6 separate regions of the Homo sapiens genome follow, and regions 1, 2, 4, 5 and 6 are each linked to region 3. The links are contacts of gene promoters, found by promoter capture Hi-C in blood cells and fetal thymus (Javierre and others, 2016). All regions are on one chromosome and are shown on one strand. The core of a region is centred on a gene start or on the middle of the fragment in contact, and the rest is flanking DNA. Distances in the headings are between cores, read along the strand shown. Region 1 holds the start of ATMIN (ATM interactor). Region 2 has its middle 2.6 kb from the start of CDYL2. Region 3 holds the start of DYNLRB2 (dynein light chain roadblock-type 2). Region 4 overlaps ARLNC1 (androgen receptor regulated long noncoding RNA 1). Region 5 overlaps ARLNC1 (androgen receptor regulated long noncoding RNA 1). Region 6 overlaps ARLNC1 (androgen receptor regulated long noncoding RNA 1).

What was found. Contacts are between HindIII fragments. The CHiCAGO score rates a contact against its expected background, and 5 or more counts as called.
Region 1: the fragment with the promoter of ATMIN here is called in contact with the fragment with the promoter of DYNLRB2 in region 3 in 2 of 17 cell types (monocytes and naive CD4 T cells); the score reaches 5.8 in monocytes.
Region 2: a contact is called between a fragment that was not itself captured here and the fragment with the promoter of DYNLRB2 in region 3, in 15 of 17 cell types (M2 macrophages, M1 macrophages, megakaryocytes and 12 more). The highest score is 14.4, in M2 macrophages.
Region 4: a fragment that was not itself captured here is called in contact with the fragment with the promoter of DYNLRB2 in region 3 in 7 of 17 cell types (endothelial precursors, M2 macrophages, megakaryocytes and 4 more); the score reaches 16.3 in endothelial precursors.
Region 5: a fragment that was not itself captured here is called in contact with the fragment with the promoter of DYNLRB2 in region 3 in 1 of 17 cell types (endothelial precursors); the score reaches 5.9 in endothelial precursors.
Region 6: a contact is called between a fragment that was not itself captured here and the fragment with the promoter of DYNLRB2 in region 3, in 6 of 17 cell types (endothelial precursors, megakaryocytes, M2 macrophages and 3 more). The highest score is 12.5, in endothelial precursors.

Annotation. Positions count from the first base shown.
Region 1 is chr16:81,033,528-81,037,274 of GRCh38, reverse strand. ATMIN (ATM interactor) reads right to left here and starts at 1,433. Exons shown (of 4, transcript NM_015251.3): 1 at 1,069-1,433. The coding sequence starts at 1,404. It overlaps CENPN-AS1 (CENPN antisense RNA 1), which reads left to right. Exons shown (of 4, transcript XR_007065134.1): 1 at 1-538; 2 at 2,349-2,520. RefSeq lists silencers at 764-1,113, 1,324-1,613. The HindIII fragment of the contact is 2,725 bases long and covers 183-2,907 here.
Region 2 is chr16:80,805,549-80,808,801 of GRCh38, reverse strand. No RefSeq gene overlaps it. Among named protein-coding and RNA genes, the nearest start is that of CDYL2, 2.6 kb to the right of the region's middle. The HindIII fragment of the contact is 2,146 bases long and covers 248-2,393 here.
Region 3 is chr16:80,539,326-80,543,084 of GRCh38, reverse strand. DYNLRB2 (dynein light chain roadblock-type 2) reads right to left here and starts at 2,092. Exons shown (of 4, transcript NM_130897.3): 1 at 2,006-2,092. The coding sequence starts at 2,008. All of the region lies in intron 1 of DYNLRB2-AS1 (DYNLRB2 antisense RNA 1), which reads left to right. RefSeq lists an enhancer at 1,952-2,041. The HindIII fragment of the contact is 6,420 bases long and covers 826-3,759 here.
Region 4 is chr16:80,833,199-80,836,504 of GRCh38, reverse strand. The region is part of intron 2 of ARLNC1 (androgen receptor regulated long noncoding RNA 1); the gene reads left to right. Among named protein-coding and RNA genes, the nearest start is that of CDYL2, 30 kb to the right of the region's middle. The HindIII fragment of the contact is 1,000 bases long and covers 1,109-2,108 here.
Region 5 is chr16:80,873,256-80,876,897 of GRCh38, reverse strand. The region is part of intron 1 of ARLNC1 (androgen receptor regulated long noncoding RNA 1); the gene reads left to right. Among named protein-coding and RNA genes, the nearest start is that of ARLNC1, 18 kb to the left of the region's middle. The HindIII fragment of the contact is 1,272 bases long and covers 1,380-2,651 here.
Region 6 is chr16:80,850,476-80,853,781 of GRCh38, reverse strand. The region is part of intron 1 of ARLNC1 (androgen receptor regulated long noncoding RNA 1); the gene reads left to right. Among named protein-coding and RNA genes, the nearest start is that of ARLNC1, 40 kb to the left of the region's middle. The HindIII fragment of the contact is 1,914 bases long and covers 1,052-2,965 here.

The DNA of each region.
Region 1 (3,747 bases), core at 184-2,683, 490 kb before region 3:
TCTAAATTTACTCCTGATCATCAAAAGCTACATATTCGCAGAACTGCTTTCAATGACTTGCGCTTTTGAATTATGTCACTGCTGGCCTAGAGTGGTGGAAGGAAACTTGCCATTGTAATGACTGAGAGATTGTGACTTAACAGGTCCGGGGTGGGGCTGGACATCTGGATTTTTAATAAGCTTGTCACAGATGTGTCCCAAGGTTGAAAATGACTGCCCTGTTTTGCATAACGTGGAGGGTTGTTGAGACTATTGTCATGGTGTATTTACTGTGTCCCCCTCTTAAAGAAGAGCCACAGGGGCAATTTCCCTTAGGTCTCAGTCCTGAGCTGATCTTACCAACACCGTGAAACTGACTGATGGTGTTTAGAGGCAAACCTACCGCTCCTTTAAAACATTTTTTTATTCATAATCGACACACAGTAATTATTCCTACTGATGGGGTGCGGTGTGCAGCATGGATGGACATATACATTGCATAGTGATCAAGTCAGAGTGTTTAACATGTCCTCGACCTCAAACGTATTGTCTCTTGGTGGTGAGAACATTTAAAACCCTCTCTTCTAGTTATTGTGGCACATACAGTCCACTGGGCAGGACCCAAGGGCGGCATTGTGGGTGTCGTGGCAAGCACAGGGCTTTAGAACCAGAGGCCCCGGTTTAAAGCCCCGCATCATCTAGGTTGCATAATCTGTTTCTCATTAATATAATGGAGACGATGCGTCCCTCGCCAAAACGCCGTTAAGAACTCACAGGCAAAAAAGTGTAAAAAGCCTGGGCCGGCGTCCGGCACGACACTCGGGGCCAGGGAGCCAGGGAACCAGGGAACTGGCGCGTACGGCGGACCCGGGGCTCCCAGCTCCTCCTCCCCCCCAGAGGCCGCACCTGCGGCGCCTGCCGCGAGGGTTCGAGAGCCGCCTCCGGCCGGGGAGGGCAGAGGCCGGTGGGGCAGCGGCAGCGGCAGCGCGCAGGGCGCTCGTCCCCCCGAGGCCGGCTTCGCGCGCCGGCGCCGGGCGCTTTGTTGGAGCCAGGCCCGGCCCCCCGGGCCGCCGGCCGCGTCGGGCTCACCTGCAGGCGGTGGCTCTTGACTAGGTGCATGTTGAGCGCGGGGCTGTTGGGCAGGATCTTGCCGCAGCCGCGCACGGTGCACAGGATGTTGGTCCGCACGGCCCGGGACAGCTCGCTCACCGACGGCTGGATCAGCTCCCCCGCCGGCGGCGCGGGGACAGCGGGCTGCTGCGTCGCCCCCGCGGGCCGCGGCCGGCTGCCCCTCAGTCGGGGTCCCGGGGGCACCCACGGGCCCGAGGCGGCGGCGGCGGCTCCTGTCGTGGCCGCCGGGACGGCCCGGGCACCCGCCGCCAGAGCCGCGGACCCCGCCGCCGCCGCCGCCTCCGAGGCCGCCATGGCTCCCGCACGGCCGCCCGGCCCAGTTCGTAGGCCCCGCCCCCGCCGCAGCCACTTCCGGCAGGGGGCGAGGCCGCCAGGCTTGTTAGCATCCGGCGGGCCCAGGCGGCCGCGGCGCCCCCTGCCGGCCGCGGAGGGCGCGCCTTGGAGGGAGAGGACTTTAGGTGACGCCGCCAGGAGGCGAAATTTCACCTGCCAGCAGGTAAAAGGTATTGCCCCGCCTCTCTAATCGATCCATTCTTCCTAGGAAAGTGACTTCAGGCAGTAGTCACATAAAAGAAAAAGCAATACGTTGAGCAATGCGTTTACTTCCCAAAGATTAGAAACAACCCAAATGTCTAGTGGCAGGTGAGGCAGAAGTACACTGATTTCCGCCGTTGTTTATTACCTAGGCCTTACTGGGTACCAGGTGGGTCTGGTGGATGCACTTTTCATGCTGTGTCTCATTTTGTCTTCAAAACGACTGTAGCGGGTATGTACTGTAACTTGCCCCACCTTGTGCAGAGAAGGACATTTAGGCTTATATAAATTAAGTAACTTGACCTAGACCACACTATACAAATGAAAAGATTGTTATTATTGATAGGATTAATCATTTTAAGAAGGCTGGATTTGCTTGCTTCTATTTTAGCTGCTGAAATTAGGATTACTGTTTGGGAGACACTGCAGTTCAGTATACGATTACAAAACTTAATACTTAGACTGGGTAGTTCATGTAAATGGACATAGGAGGCTGGGGTAGACAAAAGGGAGGGGTGAGGACTGCAGTGAAATTGGAAACACATCCTTTATTAAAAGGGGGCAGCTGCTACTCATCTTTGGTATGGCTAGAGTTTTATGTGAAAATTTCCACCTTTTACATACTAGCAGCTATATTCGTTTTCTCTTGCTATTAATAAATTACCACAAACTTACTGCCTTAACACAAATTTATTATCTTCCAGCTCTGGAGGTCAAAAGAAATGAGACTGCTGGGCTAAGATCAAGGTGTCAGCAGGGCTGTATTCCTTCCCAAGGCTCCAGGGGAGAATCTGTTCACTTGCCTTTCCCAGCTTCTAGAGGTTGCCTACATTCCTTGGCTTGCGGACCCTTCCTCCATCTCCAGAATCAGTAACGGTGAGTTGAGTCTTCGTCACATCACATCACTCTGATTTCTTCAGTAGTGATCCCTCTGATTCTTCTATTCTTGAGGCCCCCTGTGATGACATTGGGCCCATTCAAATCATCCAGGATAATTTCTCCAACTGCCAAGTCCCTTTGCCTTGCAAGATAACTGTGATAATGTGAAGTATATATTTGGTCTTTGTCCTGGCATGCAATTCCTAAAATCCTTGGAATCAGCAAATTGGTGTTTTTTTGTATGCTAATTAGTTGACTGATGACTCACAGTCCCTAGGTAGCTTTAGGATGGGACTGGTCACTGGAAAGACCAAGGTAGGATTAGAGGCTTGAGACTTTCAGCCCTCCCCCTCAACCTCTGGGGAGGAGACAGGGGCTGAAGCTTAAGCTGATCAATCATTCCTAGGTAATGAAGCCTCCATAAAATCCCAAAAGAAATGGGTTTGGAGAACTTCCAGATAGCTGAATGCATGGAGTTTCCTGGAGGGAGGCGCACTCAAAGAGGGCATGCGTGGAAGCTCTTGCCCTATGCATCTTTTCATCTGAATCCTTTGTAACATCCCTTGTAAGAAGTCAGTCTATGTGTCTTCCTGAGTTCTGTGAGCTGCCCTAGCAAATTAATTGAACATGAAGAGAGGGTTGTGGGAAATGCAATTTATAGCTGGTTAGTCAGAAGCGCAGGTGAAACAACCTGGGGCTGGCAACTGGCCTCAGAAGTGGGTGGCAGTTTTGTGGGACTGAGCCCTTAACCTATGGGGTCTGATGATATCGCCAGGTAGTTAGTGTTGGAATTGAACTGGAGCATACCCAGCTGGTATCTGCTGTAGAACTGATTGCTTATGTCAACCAAGAAGAGGTGAAAGGGCCAGGCATGGTGGCTCACGCCTGTAATCCCAGCACTTTGGGTGGCCGAGGCAGGGCGGATCACGAGGTCAAGAGATCGAGACCATCCTGGCCAACATGGTGAAACTCTGTCTCTACTAAAAATACAAAAATTAGCCGGGTGTGGTGCGCACGCCTGTAATCCCAGCTACTCAGGAGGCTGAGGCAGGAGAATCGCTTGAACCCAGGAGACGGAGGTTGTGGTGAGCCAAGATCGCACCACTGTACTCCAGCCTGGTGACAGAGCAAGACTGTCTCAAAAAAAAAAAAAAAAAAAAGAAGAGGTGAAAGACCACACTGCAAAGCAGTAAGACAAGGCATTTTTTTTTAATTAAAAAAAAA
Region 2 (3,253 bases), core at 71-2,570, 270 kb before region 3:
AAGTGACTATGTTTGGTGTCTAAGATGAGATATTCAAAGGCATTGTGACTTCCTCCTTGCTCTCTCTCTCGGATCACCCAATGTGGGTCTTGGTTTTTCCATCTTCAAAGTGAGGTGTGTGGATCAGATAACATCTCCAGTTATCCAACCTGACATGTCGTAAATCATCTGTGCATCAAATAGTCTTCTTAGCATGGACTATAACATCAGATTCGTTAGCTGCTCTGTGCTAGAAAGAGTTGAAGCTTTGACAGTTTTGCTTCATTTTGTTGGATTTGGGGGGCCAAGATCAGAATGACATGAGAACACTCAAGCAACTTTATGGAGAGACCCATGTGGCTAGGAGCTTAGGCCTCCTGCCAACAGCCATATGAGGGTGCCATCTTGGAGGTGGATTCTCCAGCCCAGCCAACCCTTCAGGTCAATGCAGTCCTAGCAAGCATTTTGACTGCAATCTCACAAGAGATCCTGAGCCAGAACCACCCCCAGTTAAGTTGCTGTCAAATCCACAACCCACACAAACTGTGAAATTAGAAAAACCTTTTGTTTAAAACCATTAAGTTTTGGGGATAATTCATCATGCAGTAATAAATAACACATACATTTGGAAATGGAAGGGTAGAGAGGTTAAACAAAGAGGCTGACACCAGATATCTAGTAGTGATGATGCAAGAATTGGAACCCAGGCCATCTGCCTCTGGAGCCCACATGTTCAGCCACCACAGGATACAGGAGGTCAAGATTATGTCTCAAGTAATACCGGAAGGAGAATATTGCCACATTTCAATGCCACTGTTAAGGCAGTGGATACGATCTTTCCTTGGACATTACACTTGCTGGTCTTGCTCTATTATATTAAAAAGGCCGTGTTCCAGGCAGCTACTGCCCTTGCTTCTAAGTTCCCTTTCTGTCTCAGATTTGTTTTGGCGTAAACACCTACCGTTTCAGTATTCCTTCCACCATTCCTTTAGGCTTCTGCTCAGACCCGATTCCCATCATGTAATTCTGGTAAAACTGCCAATTGTCATATTGTTCCCATAGATAGGAGTATGACTTAAGCCTGGCCAATCATAGTGTCCTATCAGTTATTGACTATGGTGATTGGACCAGTAAGACAGCATATGAGCTACATTGGCCCAATAGAGTCCTTCCCTGGGATTTAGAAATACTGTATAAGGCATAAGCCCAGGTGAGTGGCCAGGTGCCATATTCTCAGCTGCATGGAAGAAGCCTGTCTTCAGCAGGAAAGATACCAGCATGCAGAAAGAAGGAGAGAGTAAGAGAGGCTATTTTGTATCCTTTCATACCTTGAATCCGGCCAATCCTGAGAGCAATTCCATCCTTTTCTAGTCTATATGAGTCAGGAAATACTCTGTTGTTTTAAGTTAGAGCTTTCTATCAGTTCATCTTGAGTTACGACCAATATGAATAGTCTACCACAGTTTGTGGAAGATGGCAGCTATCTTCCATTCTCCATGAGCAACACTAGTTCTCTATCATCTGGAGAACCTAGAGCCTCACTGTTAATTGGTTGGGCTGAACTTCCTACAGTGGGTGAAGACCCTTCCCCCCTTCATCCCTCAGGAAGCACCTGCCTTTTCTGGAAGCTAGCCATGGTCTGGGGGTAAGCTCAAAATAAAATTGTGTTATGACGGATGGGTAGCTCAGTCACTCAGTTTAAAACCTTAGTCATCTCTGTATCCTTTCCTTAGTCGCGGCCCCTCCCCAAGTCCTCAATGCACACACATCCTGTTAGTCATCAAGTCCTGTTGATCTGAATCGAATGCTTCATGGAAGTAGGTGGAGTAACCATAATGAAAGTTAGCCTGGTTCTTCCTTCTGAACATCTCGCAAATCCCATTTTTCTTCTTCATTTCCACTGCTAACACCAGGGACCATTGCAATTGGTCTCCCTGCCCCTAACCTCAAACCCTGCAGTTGATTTCCCATATTTCTTCTAGAATTTGTTTTCTACAGTGCACTTTTGATAGTCACATGCTTTTGATTGATTCAAAAGTCTTCATCAGTTTCTCCACTGTTGACCTACTAAATAGCAAACTTCTTAGCTTGGCTTTCAAGACTATCTCCGAACTGACCCACATTCACCATCCAGGGTCCTGTGACCTCCATAAACCAGTCCTCCAATCTTCTCATACCCTTCCCATAGCAGAATTGCTTACCATCTACTCTGACTTCTTCTCCTCACGGAAAACACTGTCCTTCCTTTTCTATGAGTCTTCAAGATCCATTTCAGTCCTAAAACATTTCCTGAGCATGGTCATCCACACTAAGTATCCTCTTCTGTGAACTCTGTAAACAACTGTTGTCTAGACTAGGGTTTTTCAAACTGCACTCACATTCTCAGGGAGTACTTGGCCAGTACAAGTCAAGCTTTTGGTGTTTTTGTAAAACTACTGATTATATATTCAAATTTGGCTTAGTATATTATTTCCAAGCCCAGTTTCCTTCTTGTCTTCTTCCAAATTACATCCTCATGCTATGGTGGTGCATTTATTCGTGAGTACAAATTAAGACTCATTAAAATTTGTTTAGCTACCTACAGATAGAGAACTGCTTATTATTACTGTTATTATTTAAAACCATGACCACCGGGAAAATATCAATATGAAGAGAGAAGTTCTATAACAATTTCAACAGTTTCTAAGCCAAATATGCTTTCTGATTTATTAATTCCTTATCCTCACCATTTTTTCCTTATCTTCATGCGGGATTTTAACTAGAAATTGGTATAAAATTTGTTATATTGGCATAGTTCGAAAAACAATCACTGTGTACCTACTCTCTCTCAGGAACAGTGGAAGATGCTTGCGATACAAAGATAAACAAGCCCCTATACGAAGAACAAGAATGTTCCAGATGGATTCAATGTGGAAGGACATTCTAGGCAGGGGGAACAGCAAATGCAAATCCATGTGTCCTGGAATGAGCCAGACATGCTTCAGGTTCCATGGAGTTTTTTTTTTTTTTTTTTTTTTTTGGATTAAAAAATTTGGTGACTTTTCAAAGTTTGACAACCTCAGGATTAAACAATTTATCGAGCCCCTCTGCCATCTCACTCTCCATGAGGGCAGTCCAGGTTGAGACTCAGATACAAATCACCTTTATTGAGTTCTGCTGGGATGGACAGGTCACTTCATGTATACGTAGATCCTCTCCTTAATTCTATTTAAATCACTTAGGTGACTATCACCATCTCCCATCAGGGTTCGGTGACCTGCCCACAGCCTCCCAA
Region 3 (3,759 bases), core at 843-3,342:
GGATACAATCCTGATGAATCTCTTGGCTTGAACCCTTGTAGAGACAGAGAGCTTACTGCCTCACAGGAGTTCACTCCATTTTTATCTGTTTCCATTTACTAGAAAAGTATTCTTTACATTGCATGGAAATTTGTCCCAGATTATCTTTCATTCATTGACCCTGCTGTATTCAAATGAAAATTCCTTTTCTACATTACAGTGCTTTAAATATTTATAGAGCTATATCATGGCCTCCCTCTGTCTAAAAGTAGTCCTTATTGAGAAATCTTATTTTCATTAATGTGACCTAATCAGTTCGGATGATTAAATTTAAAGGATAGTCTATAAAAACAAAGTATTCCAGGATTCTAGGATTTTCTTGATAACTATAGCTTGCGTCTCAGTGCAAGCTGAATGTTCAACTATGAGTGATTATTCTGGAATCTATTATTGTGTTTTAAACTCATTCGGAATCTTATGTGTAGAGTGTATTGTATGTTTTCTTCCCCTGTAGAAAACTCAAAGACAAGAACGATCTTTTCCAAACCTGCAAATTTTTCATGACTGAGCAATCACTGGATATTTTGAATTCTGCAAATTCTCTTGATGAGGGTTTGCTATATTCTTTTTTCCTCAGTATTGCACAGGTGAACATTTTGTTACTTCAAGATAGTTTTCCTTTGTACTTGGTATGGGCAGGAGCACTTATTTTCTCTATTTCAGCATCAGAGCCAAGGTTTTCTTGACTTTAGGCATTTGTGTACTAGATTCATGATTCTTGCCATTATGAATGCCATGTATACTATTTATCTAGGTGTTCTTTAAATTATCTCACTGCTAAAAGCTTAAATAAATGCATTTTAAGAGGAAATCGTATGTCACTACCACAAATGGAAACCTGACGTTATTCCTCATAAATAGAAATAACTGTAAAACAAACAAAATGAACAAAATGAAGAGAGAGCCTATCATTAAATTCTACTGCAATGAAAGCTCTGAGCCTGAGGCCTGCTCTTCGGATGAAAAAATGGAAATTTCCAAATGACAGTGGTATTAAGGACCTAATAGCAACAGAAATTTTCTCCTGTATGTAGTCTGAAGGTTGAACAAAATGGAAGAGGAATAACTTTCTCACGATGTGATTCACTCTTATTTAGCATTTCTCGGCCATCTTATGTAGCAACGAATGTTTGCATCTGACTTTGAGAAACACTACACTAAACCGTAAGCGTTGAACAGGGGATCAATAATTCACTGCATTTTGGGCAATCTTTAAGACGATGTCCACAGCTTCTTACAGCCACTGTGTCCTTATTTATCTTTCTCCCTTTACTTATCTCCCAAACTCCTTTCTTTTCTTTCCCTGGCCTTTCCATTTCTCCACCCAGTTGTTTCTCTTCTCATGATTTGTAAGTGCTCCTAGTATAATTTCTTAATCCCCATCTCCAATCCCCGTTTCATTCTTCTCTTAACGCCCTTTGCTTTCCACAGTCTCTACTTTTTTTTTTCTTACCTCTTTTTCTGGGGGGGAGGGGGGCGGGTCTCCCATCACTTCTTTCCTTTTTCTTTATTTCCCTTTCTTCTTTCTCAGTATCTTCCCTTCTCACCCTTCCATTCCCTTGCTTTCCCTGTCCCACCTCTTCCTTCTCTCTAAGGGTCTGATTTTTTTTCCTCTCCATCTCGGCCTCCCGCCCCCTCTTTGGAAACTTTCCTGGCTCCCCGGATTTCTCACTCCCCTGAGCATTCTTCATCCTCTGAATCTCTCTCTTCCCTTTCTCAACATCACCCCTCCTTATGTACCATCCCCGCGAAATCAATTCCCAAAACAGCTTCCAGTCATCTAGACATCTTCTTGCCCCTTTCCAAGGTCTCCCTCTCGCCCCTCCAGGAAGATCCTGGAGCCACCAGCCTCCGCCGCGGCCCCTGGACCGCCCGTGCCTGGGTGGGCCCCAGAAGCTGGGTGCGAAGGTCCTTGACGGTCGGCGTGCTTGGAACGGCGGGGCGTGGACGGAGACCCCAGATTTACCATCGCGGAGGCCGCGAAACTCTGGGCTCAGGCCGGCGGCACAGCCTCCCGGGATGTCAACAACGCTACCCGCCGTTGCTAGGAGACAAAAAAGGAAGTGGCCCCACGGAAGCGTCAGGGCTGCGCCTGCGCGCTCGCGAGTCGGCTTTTTCGCCCTGACCGCGCTCCTGATGCCTCCCGGCCGCCGTAGGCGAAGGTTCGCGGAAGAGGGGAGCAGGCGCTCACCTGAGGTTCGCCCAATCCTGGAGCAGTGGGTCCCGGGAGGGAAGAGGGAAGTGGGTCAGGCTCCCGGCCTGTGTTTGTCCATTCATTCATTCATTGAGGCACGAATTAATGTGATAACCACTTATTCGTTCAAAAACTGCTGATTCACCACCCACCAGGTGCCAGGGAGACGGACAAAATGCACCAAACAAAATGCACGAAACAGTACCGGAAGCAGTAATGTCCACGTGTGATACTTGCCCTGGAGCAAGTAAGGAGGGGACAGGACCATCTGACTTCGGGGTTGGGCTGCTCTAGGGGTTTGGTGATAGTCTTAGCTGCCTGTGACCGTCCATTAGTACTGCCCTGTTCAGGGCAGATACTGTTCGCTCGCCTCCCAGTAGTTTTTATATTGAAGAAAAATATATCAGAGCATCAAATAGTACAACCTTATGTACTTAAAAAAATTACTTTCTATCTGTCTACTCTAAGATCAGTAGAGTAAGCACAGTTGCACATTTTATGTTCTCACCTAGTTATAGCACCCTCTTCCTGTTCTCAACTCCATTGAAGAGTTGCTACTTGTCAGTATTTCTGTTAGTTGTCAGTATCCATTAGGATCTGTATTTTTGCCATTTTAAAAATCAACAGTTCTGAGTTACTAAAAAATTGCAAATGGTAGTTCCGGAGGTTCTATACGTTGCCATAGAAGAGCATTCCATTGGGTGTTTAAGGAACTGTTGGAGGAAACACGTTAAAGATCAGTTAGGAATGATCAGAAGTCACTTGACCTTTTGAGGGACATTGATAATATCCTTATAGCCTAGGAGGAAAAGAGCCACTATTGTACGACGAAGCACAGCAGGAAAATTTTATGGCTGGAGTCGTGTTATGACTTCCTGAGGTTAGAGGAGGACAAATATTGATTACAAAATACAAGCTGTAAGTTGGGAATGCATCTTCATAGGGATCATGCCATAACAACTTCCTGTAATACCGATTCTGTTTGTGCATCCATTTCCAGAAAGTAGTCTCACACTGAACAAGGCATACATCGTGCTAGGAATGTCAACTGGATTCTGAATGGTCCATGTTAGGGGTGCTCTGGGACAGTTTTGAACTCATTGGCAGGCTTGGACTCGATGATCCATTTCAACTCCACATCTGTCATTTTATTATATTAACTACAGAAATACTCTGAGAAACTGTAGTTCTGCTCTAATTTTTGTTGAGGTGTGGGTGATTCTGATCACTGTAGTTCTCTCCTTTTTTTCCCTCCAAGAAATCTGTATATCTCAGCCAGTTCACTATTACTAGCCAAAGAATCCCGCTTGACTCTCAACACCTGGTACTCCAACAAAGTTGCTTTGGAAAGGACTGCTATAGCTGTGGGGAAGGAGTCTGAGTCTGGTGTGTGCGTGTGCGTGTGCATTTGTGTGCTTGTGTGTGTATGCATGCATGTGTGTACAGATCTGGCTCTTACCTGATTGACTATAGCTACCATTTTGCAGTAATACAAATAATAGGTCTTTACAGAAATACTGGCTGAG
Region 4 (3,306 bases), core at 359-2,858, 290 kb before region 3:
GGACTCCTAGAGGGAGAAAGAAGGAGGGGGCAAGGGTTGAAAAATGAACTGTTGTGTACTCTGCTCACTACCCCGGTGACAGGATGTTTCTTAACCCAAACGTCAGCATCATGCAACATACTCACATAACAAACCCGCACGTGTACCCCCGAATCTAAAATAAAAGCAGAAATTATATGAAAAAACTGGGGTGGGAGTTGGAAGGAACTTTAGATATGTAATAAATTTGTTTGAAAACTGTTAATTTCTCATGCTTTCATTAAAAAATAATTTTCCTCAAGAAACCCCAAATTCTCCACCTCAGGAATGAAAAGTGCATTTGAATTTCAAGAAGGTATGGGCATGAGAACCTTGCAGTTTTCTAATTTGTGGAGACAAAATAATTTTTATAACACCAACCAGAGGTTTCCTCTACAAACCCCTTGTAATTCCTTTCTGAGCTCTCTTCCTTCTAGAATCTTGGGGCATCTGAAAAACTCAAAGCTATGTAAACACAACATATTGGTTGTTGGAGACAGGATAGCTTCTTGTCTTCTTTCCCTTGTGATATGGTTTGGCTGTGTCCCCATCCAACTCTCAACTTGAATTGCATCTTCCAGAATTCCCACGTGTTGTAGGAGGGACTCAGGGGGAGGTAATTGAATCATGGGGGCTGGTCTTTCCCCTACTATTCTCCTTATAATTAATAAGCCTCACAAGATCTGATGGGTTTATCAGGGGTTTCCGCTTTTGCTTCTTCCTCATTTTCTCTTGCTGCTGCCATTTTCGCCTCCCGCCATGATTCTGAGGCCTCCCCAGCTATGTGGAACTGTAAGTCCAGTTAAACCTCGTTTTCTTCCCAGTCTCAGGTATGTCTTTATCAGCAGCATGAAACGGACTAATACACCTTGTTTTCTCACTGTGGGGTTGTAAACATTTGTAAATGTGGCCACCTTAGAACAGACGTTGAGTGGAAATAAGAATTGTAGGGTAGCACTGAAGCCAGTTGCCTTGTGTAGGACCATGTTCTCTGTTTTCATGCCTTTTCTTGTCCTCCTCTTAAAAGATGTCTCCTTCTAGTATTCTACCAGACTACCTTAGTCTTCGGATTTTCCTTTCTATCCAAGCTTATTTTTATAAAGGTTGGGATCAATTTATTGATGTGATTGAGATGGACCCTCCTTCTAGCGTCAAGGCATTCTAATGGAATATTAAAATTATAAAGATGACTCCCCCAGACCCAGAAAAAACAAATCCTTGGCCTTGAACAGTTCTGTTAGAACCAATTCTGTAGGGAAGTTTGTGAAAGTAACTTGCAAAGCTACTCAATATGGATATTAAACAGCCTAGTTTTTCCTAATTGTGCCTCATTTCAACTGTGTCCTCTGGGTACTACTGGCTTCCCAGTGGTTGGGTTGAGTATAAGCCCCCAAATATGAGTAAAAGAAGAAAAAGTTAATTCAATCACCAAGTCTTGCTCGCATATTAAAAATTGGATAGATGAATGTTCAATCATATGTTTTGGCTTTGGCCAGCCAGACGAGGTCAATTTTTAGATTTGAACTGCTTAGAATTCTTCAGGCAAGTCTTGATGGAGCACTTCTTGGACAGTTAGAACTTTACCAGGTTCACAGGAGAGCTCAGATGAAGCGAACACCTCATCCACACTGGTTTCCTTTGGAGACCTTTACTGTTGAGAGGTGGTTTTCATAGCCGCAAAATGACAAGTGCAAGTTGAGTAGATCAGTGTTTATCAACCAGGTGCCACATTGTGCCCCAGGAGACATTTGACAATGATGGGGTGTTACTGGCATCTAGTAGACAGAGGTCAGGGATGCTGCTTAACATCTTACAATGCACAGGACAGTTGCCACAGCAAAGCATTACCCAGACCCAAATGCCAATAGTGCCAAGGTTGAGAAGCCCTGCAGTAGAGAATGCTGAATGTCACAACCAGGGAAGCAAAATCTGTCAGTGGTGAAAGGGATGTGTATGGCACTTAGAGTAGAATCACAGCCAGAGTCAGGACACAGGTAGATTTTGGAGAACTGGAAGTGAGGACCAAAACCAGGGGAAAAGTGAGAGAAGCCAAGACCGTGGCTATGATCCAGGTTGTAATACCTGAAGCTTCCTTGGCTTGTATGGTGGGGTACTGGACTTGCCTAATTTCTAGGCATGGAGTTGGGGCTTGTAACAATGGTGGGAGATGGGCAGTGCTTTGGGAATGTAGCTGACCACTGCATGGGTGCTAACTAGCCCAGGGATCTTAAAGAATTTGTGTAGGCCATGAGGATCCACTCCAGCCACTGAATAGTCATAGAATTGAATCTAGGACATCACCGTATGCTACTACCATGCAGTTTTATCCCTTCTAAGAATCCAAATGCCCTAGTTTAATTTCTAAATTTTTGTTTTGTTTATTTTCACTAAAGCAACATGTTAGTGGACTGCGGAGGGAAGTGAATTCATGGCTGGTCCTCATCTTGATATCTTTTAATAGGATCATGAGGCAGTGTGGTAGGAAGAAAACGTTGTATTTAGTTAAAAAAAAAAAAACAAAGAGAATCTGCCTTTTAAGAGAGGAAGAGCATGGCTATCAGAAGTGAATGGCTCTTTGATGGAGTAAAATACTTTGATGAGACTTTGTGGTTGATGAAGATGTCTCTGTCTTGCTTTTTTGACTACTTCTAGGCAAAACCTAGATTTGTAAGGGTAAGTGAGAGAGCTCAACTGCTTCAGCTTAGAAAATAAGGATTTTGACTGTTTGTGGGCAGCCCAAGAATGAGGTAACTGAATGTGGGAAGCCCAAGAATGAGGGGCCCAGTGTGTGAGAATTGGATCCCAGAAATATGGCCATAGGCAGCCTCTGGGGAGAGACCAAGGCCATGAGAAGCTCCCCATGAAGGAGACATTATGGGACGTGTGTGAAAATGACACAGTTTTAAATTACGTGCGTTCTGGCTGTGAAGGAATGGTTGTAAAGAAACCACTTATATTATCCCTAAAAGCCTCAGTAAACGTTTGCCACACGATGTAACAGCTTTGGGATAGTTGCTGGGGAAGAGGGAAGGAGGCTGAGTGGGGTTCAGAAGCAGCAGGGAAGAGAGGTGACCCACAGGAGGGTAAGCCCTACTTCATCCACTCCTCTTTCCCATTCTCACTCTCTGAGGCACTGGAAAGGTCACAGGACCTCTCCTAGTACATGAGATGGGAGCTCGACACATTTTATTTGGAGAATAAAAGAAAATATGCCGTCATCAAACTAGAGCGTGTTGGGGGGCATCTGGTTTACAGAACTAAGTCAAGGAGAAGAACTCTCAAGCAATG
Region 5 (3,642 bases), core at 766-3,265, 330 kb before region 3:
TTGAGATAGTGGTTAGGGCTGGTTTGCTTCCATTAGTGTTATTCTTTGATAGTCGTATTTATTTTTCCAGTTTCATTTTAAAATACAAGTTGTAGAGGAGTTCAGATCATAGACTCTGGAGCCGGATTTACTGATTTTAAATCCTCAGTTGATGCCTTCCAGCCCTGAAACACCTGGGCAGATTGCTTGACCTTTGTATATGCCTCAGTGTCCTCATCTGTACAAAGAAAGTATCTTTAGGGGGTTGTAGTGAGAATCAATAGTTAAAATACGTACAGCTCATATATTAATAATTGGCACAGAGTAAGCTTTAAGCATGCTAGTTATTCTCACAATTTTGTGAAGTTCAAAACTCATCCTATTGGGATCTTGATTTCAATCACATTAAACCAAACCTATGGATTGATTGGGGAAGATTGATAACTCCCTCTTCAGGAGCATAGTTTGATTTATTCAACTTCTATCGCACATTTTCTCAATGAGCATTTGTAGTTTTACCCACATGAGGTTGCAGTCTTAATTAACTAGAGCAATTAAGACCTGAGTGGGGAGAAAGATTCTGATCACTCCAAATCCATCTGGATGCAACCGTTGAACTGGATGCTCCCACTCCTGTCTCAAACGGGATGAGACTCTTACTGGGGGCAGTGAATAAAGAAGATAGAGGCAGTATAAACCTTTCCTCTCTCTGGTGACCCTACAGCAAGACCCTCCCTGATTTGGATGTTCTCATTGGCACAAGATGCGGCCGGCAGCAGTGGTGATTTATACTAGGCTTGACCTCTGGGTACCACCACCAGGCTTGTTGCAGAGGAAGGCAAGGTTGAGCACTCCAGCCTTCCCTCCTAAATCAGGCTCCAGACCTTGTTTGAGCTGCATCCCTACTCCAGAAAGAAGTAGGAGCCCTCAACTCACCAGCCCTTGCCCAGCTCATTCCATCAGAAACAGGGATTAAATTGCACAGACTTTATTCCTGGCATGTGCATACGTGGAGCACTTATTGACTGATATCCTTTCTTTCACTCAGCTAGTCAACGTTTCCCATGTTAGGAGCTATAACATTCTTCCAGCTCCCACTTGCAGACCAGCACGACGTGGTTACTTTTGCTTTCTTATCAAGCACACGCTGTTCATGAATACATTTGGAACTTGTTATCCTTTCTTTATCTCTCAAGGCTAGATATCTGTAAACAGAACATGTTTAATAAATATTTGTAGTTTTTTTATATGTCACACATAGTTTTCATTTAGATATTTTATAGATACTGCAATTCCTTTGTTATATTTATGAATTGAATTACTTTTCTAAATGTAAAATTTGTTATACTAATATTAAAGGAATGTTACTGATTTTTTGAATGTGTATGTTTTAGCAAGCTTTTATTTTTCTTTCATAACTTCTATTCAATTAATAAAGTTTTCCTTATTATTTTCCTTCTCCCCCACTGATTTAGAAAGTATGTATTCTTTTTCTATTCTTTTAGTCTTCCTTAAATTTTTAATGCACATATTTGACTGAAGACTTCAAATTAATACCTTTATTCTCTTTCCAACTATATGATGTCCTTAAAATGGTTTAACTCTGGTCTCCCCAACATCGTGGATGTTTTTGTTATCTAGTGATTACATCTTGTTATTGTTTATTTTTTCATACCAGCAAATTCAGCTTTAATCTCTTTTTTTTCAGTCTTTTATTTTAAAATTGTAGACTCACAGGAAGTTGTAAAGATAGTACAGAGAGATTCCTGTACCCCCCACCCAGTTTCATCATCCATGACCCCTGGCAACTTATCTATTCTCCATTTCAATCACTGGGTCATTTCATGAATGTCACACAAATGGGATCATGCAGTATGTGGCCATCTGAGATTGACTCTCTTCCCACAGCATAATGCCCTTGACATCCATCCAAGTTGTTGAGTATATCAATAGTTTGTTCCTTTTTATTACTAACTAGTATACCACCATTTTGTATTTATTCCCTCAACAGCTGTTATTAACATTATCATTTTTATTGATATGTTTACCAGCTTGTCTACTTACTATTATTCCTTGTATGTGCTTCCTTCTGAATTTGATTTCCTAAAAGTACTGTAGCCTTCAGTAATTCTTTCCATGAGTATTTGCTCGTGCTATTTTTTTTTCAGTCTTTATTTTTCCCAAATTATCCTTCCCCTCTCTTAATTTGAATGAATAGAAGGTTCTAGATTTATGGGTTTTTTTTTTTTTAATCTTTTTCTTTTTTGAGACAGACTCTCACTCTCGGGCTGGAGTGCAGCGGCATGATCTCGGCTCACTGCAACCTCTGCCTCCCGGGTTCATGTAATTCTCATGCCTCAGCCTCCCAAGTAGCTGGGATTACAGGCACACGCCACCATGCCTGGCTGATTTAAGATTATTTTTTTCACAAAACTTTGAAGACATATCTTCTTATCTTCTGGCTTCTGTTGTTGTTCATTTACAGGTAATCTTGTTGGCCCTCGTCTTCTGTACCCTCTCTCTGCTGCTGCCATGACTTTGAAGATGATCTTGCTGCCTTTTGCCTTCTATAGTTTCACCACAATGTATTTAATGTATATTTGTTTTTGTTTATTCTATTCTTGTCTCAGACCAAATATTCAAAATGAAGATTCATGACTTTCTTTAAAGCTTAGAAAATGTTTAGCCAACATGTCTTTAATATTTTCTTCTTCCCTTTATTATTTTTCTGAAGTAAGGATTATTGAAGGCCAGTTTACATGCAGTAAAATTCAGCTCATTTACACATATAGGTAAGTGATTTTTGACATTTATAGTATTGTAAACACCACTATAACCATAATACAGAATATTTTCATCACCCCAAAAAGTTCTGTCACCTCCTTTATAGTCAATTCCCTATCTCTGCCCCAACCCCTGACAACTTCATCTGGTTGATGACTCTATAGTTTTGCATTTTCTAGATAATCATGTAAATGGAATTGGAGTATGAAATGTTTGTGCGTGGCCTTTTTTTTTTCACTCAGCACAATACACTTGGTTTATTAATACTGTTGCGTGTACTTAGTAATTCCTTCCTTTTTATTTCCATGTAGTATTTCATTATAAGGCTATACCATAATTTGTGTTCACCAGTTGATTAGTATTTGGGCTTTTTCCTGGTTTGAGTGATTATGAATAGGCTGCTATAAATATTCATGTTCAGGTCTTTCAGCGGACATATGTTTTATTTCTTTTGAGTAAATATCTAAGATTGGGATTATTGGTTCGTATGGTAATTGCATGAGTAGCTTTAGAAGAAACTGTTTTCCAAAGTGGCTGTAGCACTTTGCATTTCCACGAGCTCTGCATAGAATTCCATTTGCTCCATGCCCTTACCATCACTTAGTATTGATAGATTTTTTTTTATTGTCATTCTGATAGGAGTGTAGTGGCATCTCATTGTGGCCTTAATTTCCCTAGTCACCAATTATGTTGAGCTTCTTTTTCATGTGCCTATTTTTCCATCTACAGATGTCCCCAATTTACAATTGTTTCACTACAATTTTTCAACTTGGTGCAAAAGTGATAGGAATTCAGTAGAAACTATACTTTGAGTACCCATATACCCATTCTATTTTTTATTTTCAACCATTTATTGGATTCTGGTAAGGTATTCAATAA
Region 6 (3,306 bases), core at 759-3,258, 310 kb before region 3:
TAAGGGAAGTAGGATTTCTTTTTGGAGTAATGAAATGTTCTTAAATTGATTGTGGTGATAGATGCTCAACTCTGAATATTCTAAAAGCCATTAAGTTATGCACTTTAAATGAGTGAACTGCATGGTATATGAATGACACCTCAATTAAGCTGTTAAAAATGCTGTGGGAGCAAAGAAATGCGTGATCGTTGCCAATGTCATGGGGATGGGAACAATATTTACAGAACGCATGTTCCTCTAGACAGCCTGCCGGTGAGTGCCCTTACCCCCATTTTCAGAGAATAGAACTTGTCCCTGGTCTCAGGGCAGAGACTGGGCATAGTCCCCCATCTGTAGGAAGCAGTAAACACTCTTCCTTACCATACTTGCATACAGAGGAGGTAATATTTATGCTCCTCCTTTAAGTATCAGAGTTAATGAGGGACGGGTGACCAGAGAGGGACATTCCGGCAGAGAGGCATATGGTCAGGGTCCTGGTGGGAAAGAGATGGCACATGTGATCTGGATAATTTGAGGAGAGATCAATAAAGTGACTACCTATAGAGGTATGGGAAGAGTTTAAGGGAACCAAAGTGGGGATGGTGGCAACGTGGAGCATTACCATCCCAGGCCTGAATGGGTGAGGTGAGGAAGCCATTGTAGGAACACAGAGAGGGTGGCTGTATATACAGGGCTGCCTTCCACAGGGGGACAGCCCAAATGACAACTGCCCGGATTCATTCTCCTCCTACCCTCTGATTTCTGCTGGTCACTTTCATTGGCTGTACCCAACAAGAAGCAAGAGGGCAAGAGAGCCCACTGATGTAATCCATACTGGTCAGCCTCATGGGACAGGGAAAGGCACAGAAGCTGGACCCACAGGGATGAATGGGAGGTAATCAGCACAGATAAGGAAGTATAAAGATAACGCATATTGTAGGACTGGTAAAGGTCCCATTGAGTCATTACACCATTGTAACGCGGTCTATGCTGATTATCATTCTTCTCCAAATTCTTGCCCTGAGACCATGTTTTTTTTTCTGGTAAATTTGAGAAGTGTCTTCCAGAAGCTTTTCTCAGTGGACTCCAAATCCTTTCATTCTTTTCGCAAGGCATTCCAGCCTCTCACTTTCCTGGTTCTTCGTAAGGCCCATGGTTGCTCTCAGTGCAGATCTCAGATAAGCCAGGCCCTCTAAGTCAGGTCAGGAAGCCCAAGGCCATCTTTGGGGGAACCAGTGCTCATCTTATTCAAGTAAATGAGCCCCCCAGTGCTGAGGAGGGTAGAAAACAATTCCCCTGGCAGGGAAAGTTCAGGAAGGAGGGTTTGTAAGTCTATGGGGATCCATTTATGTCTGCCACCAGGGGGCAGGTGGACCCATTTTTAGGACTACTCTAGAAAAGTGTTTTGCTAGAGTCTTCCAAGAACAGAGGCAGAGAAAAATGGGGACTTGGAAAAGAAACAGGGTTTTTGTTTTGTTTTTCTCTTGCTTCTAAAGTTGTTCTCGGATCAAGGAAAGTGTACAGAAACCAAAAAACTCTCCTGCTAGAAATAAACAGCTAGGCCACTGAAGTGTTCTTCATTGACGTTGGTAAATTTCTTCAAGTCCCCATTGGATCTCTCCTTCATCTTTGCAGACTAAGAAGTGAGAGTTTGTACCGGAGATAGCTTGACCTAGGATCACAGGCCATATGAACAAGGCTGTCGGAGACCAAAGCGTCGAACAGATACTCGTTTATTGGTTTATAATAAGAAACATGTTGGGGAGATAAGGCAGCTGCCAAGGCTTGATTAGGACATTCTTTTGTTCAAAAAAACTTCATGGGAAACCAAAGCATAATCAGAAGATGACTGGGAATGAGAATAAAGTGAAGCTGGTTGTATGACTGGAAGTTTACTGCTTAGGTCTGCTGTGTCTAGCCTCAAAGCAGAGATTTTTGTGATAGTTGAAAGGGCAGCCTGCTCCTTAGATGACACTGAGATGGAAAGCTCCAATACTGCCCCGTGACTCTCTTCTCTCTGTTGCTGAGCACTCGTGTTTAGTGTTAAGTATTCTCTCTCTTTCATCTATCTAATCTAATCTAATCTTTGTGTCTATCATCTATGCACTATCTACCAACGATATATCTATCATCAATTGATCTATCATCTATTGATTATCAATCATCTATCAACCATCTATCTACCAACAATCTGTCATAATTGATTTATCATCTTTCAATCATCCATCCATCCTGCCAACAAGTCGGGCATATTTTAATGTTAGGGCCTGTGAGTCATTTTGGGTCTTTAAGATGAATTCATAGATCGTTGCTCCAGTTCCTGTATCTTGATTTACAGTTTGACTCTCAGAGGAGGACCTTCACTTCTTCTGGGTAGTTGTACCTTTGGATAACTGAGAGGCCAGAACACTCAGATTGAGGATGCGCTGAACATGTATGATAGAATAGGTACAAACTGAACACTCAGTTTAGACCACAGGGTGAAGGTATGAGAATCTAACACCTGCTGGTGAGGTCTGAGGATAGGAAGACACCACATCCCTCAAGGATTAGGTAAGATACTATTTAAAAGAATGGACTTCAGTGAGTTTTTTTATTTATCTGAGCTGTCTCAAAATTTAAGCCTTTGTCATCTCATTCTGAGATTTATGCATACAATGATGACTGTTGGGTTGTCCAGAATAATCACTTTCAAAGTGTCTTGAGAAATGCTAGAGTTAAATAAAGATATGCTGTAGATCAGGGTTGACAAACAATAGCCCAAGGCCTGAATCCAGCCTGCTGCCAGCTTTTGTAGATAAAGTTTTATTGGAACACAACTACACCCATCTATTCACATATTGCCTATGGCTGCTTTCTCACCACAACAGCAGAGTTGAGAGGTTGTCACAATGAATGAGTGGCCCATAAAGGCTAGACTAGGGGCTAGCTGGCCCTTTACAGAAAACAATTGCTGAACCCTGCTGTGGAGGAAAGAATACAAGCTTTTAAGCTAGATATTTTCTAGCTGCCTGACATGAGGCAAGTTTTTGCCTCTGTATGTCTCCATTTTACCATCTGTAAATGAGAATAATTATATCTACTTTTAAGTTAGGTTTAGATGAAATAACTTATTTAAAACATCTACCATATAAGGCTCTCAGGAAATTATTATTAATAAATGGGAAAACTTTACCCAAACCTCTGTGGCAGAGTTAACATGAAGACACGTACATTTGAAACAATAACCATGGCAGTAAGTTTGACTGGGAGCAACTGTTCAACACAACTCTGTAGGAATACACCGATTTTTTATAACTGTGCTGCCTAATATGGTAGCCACATGTG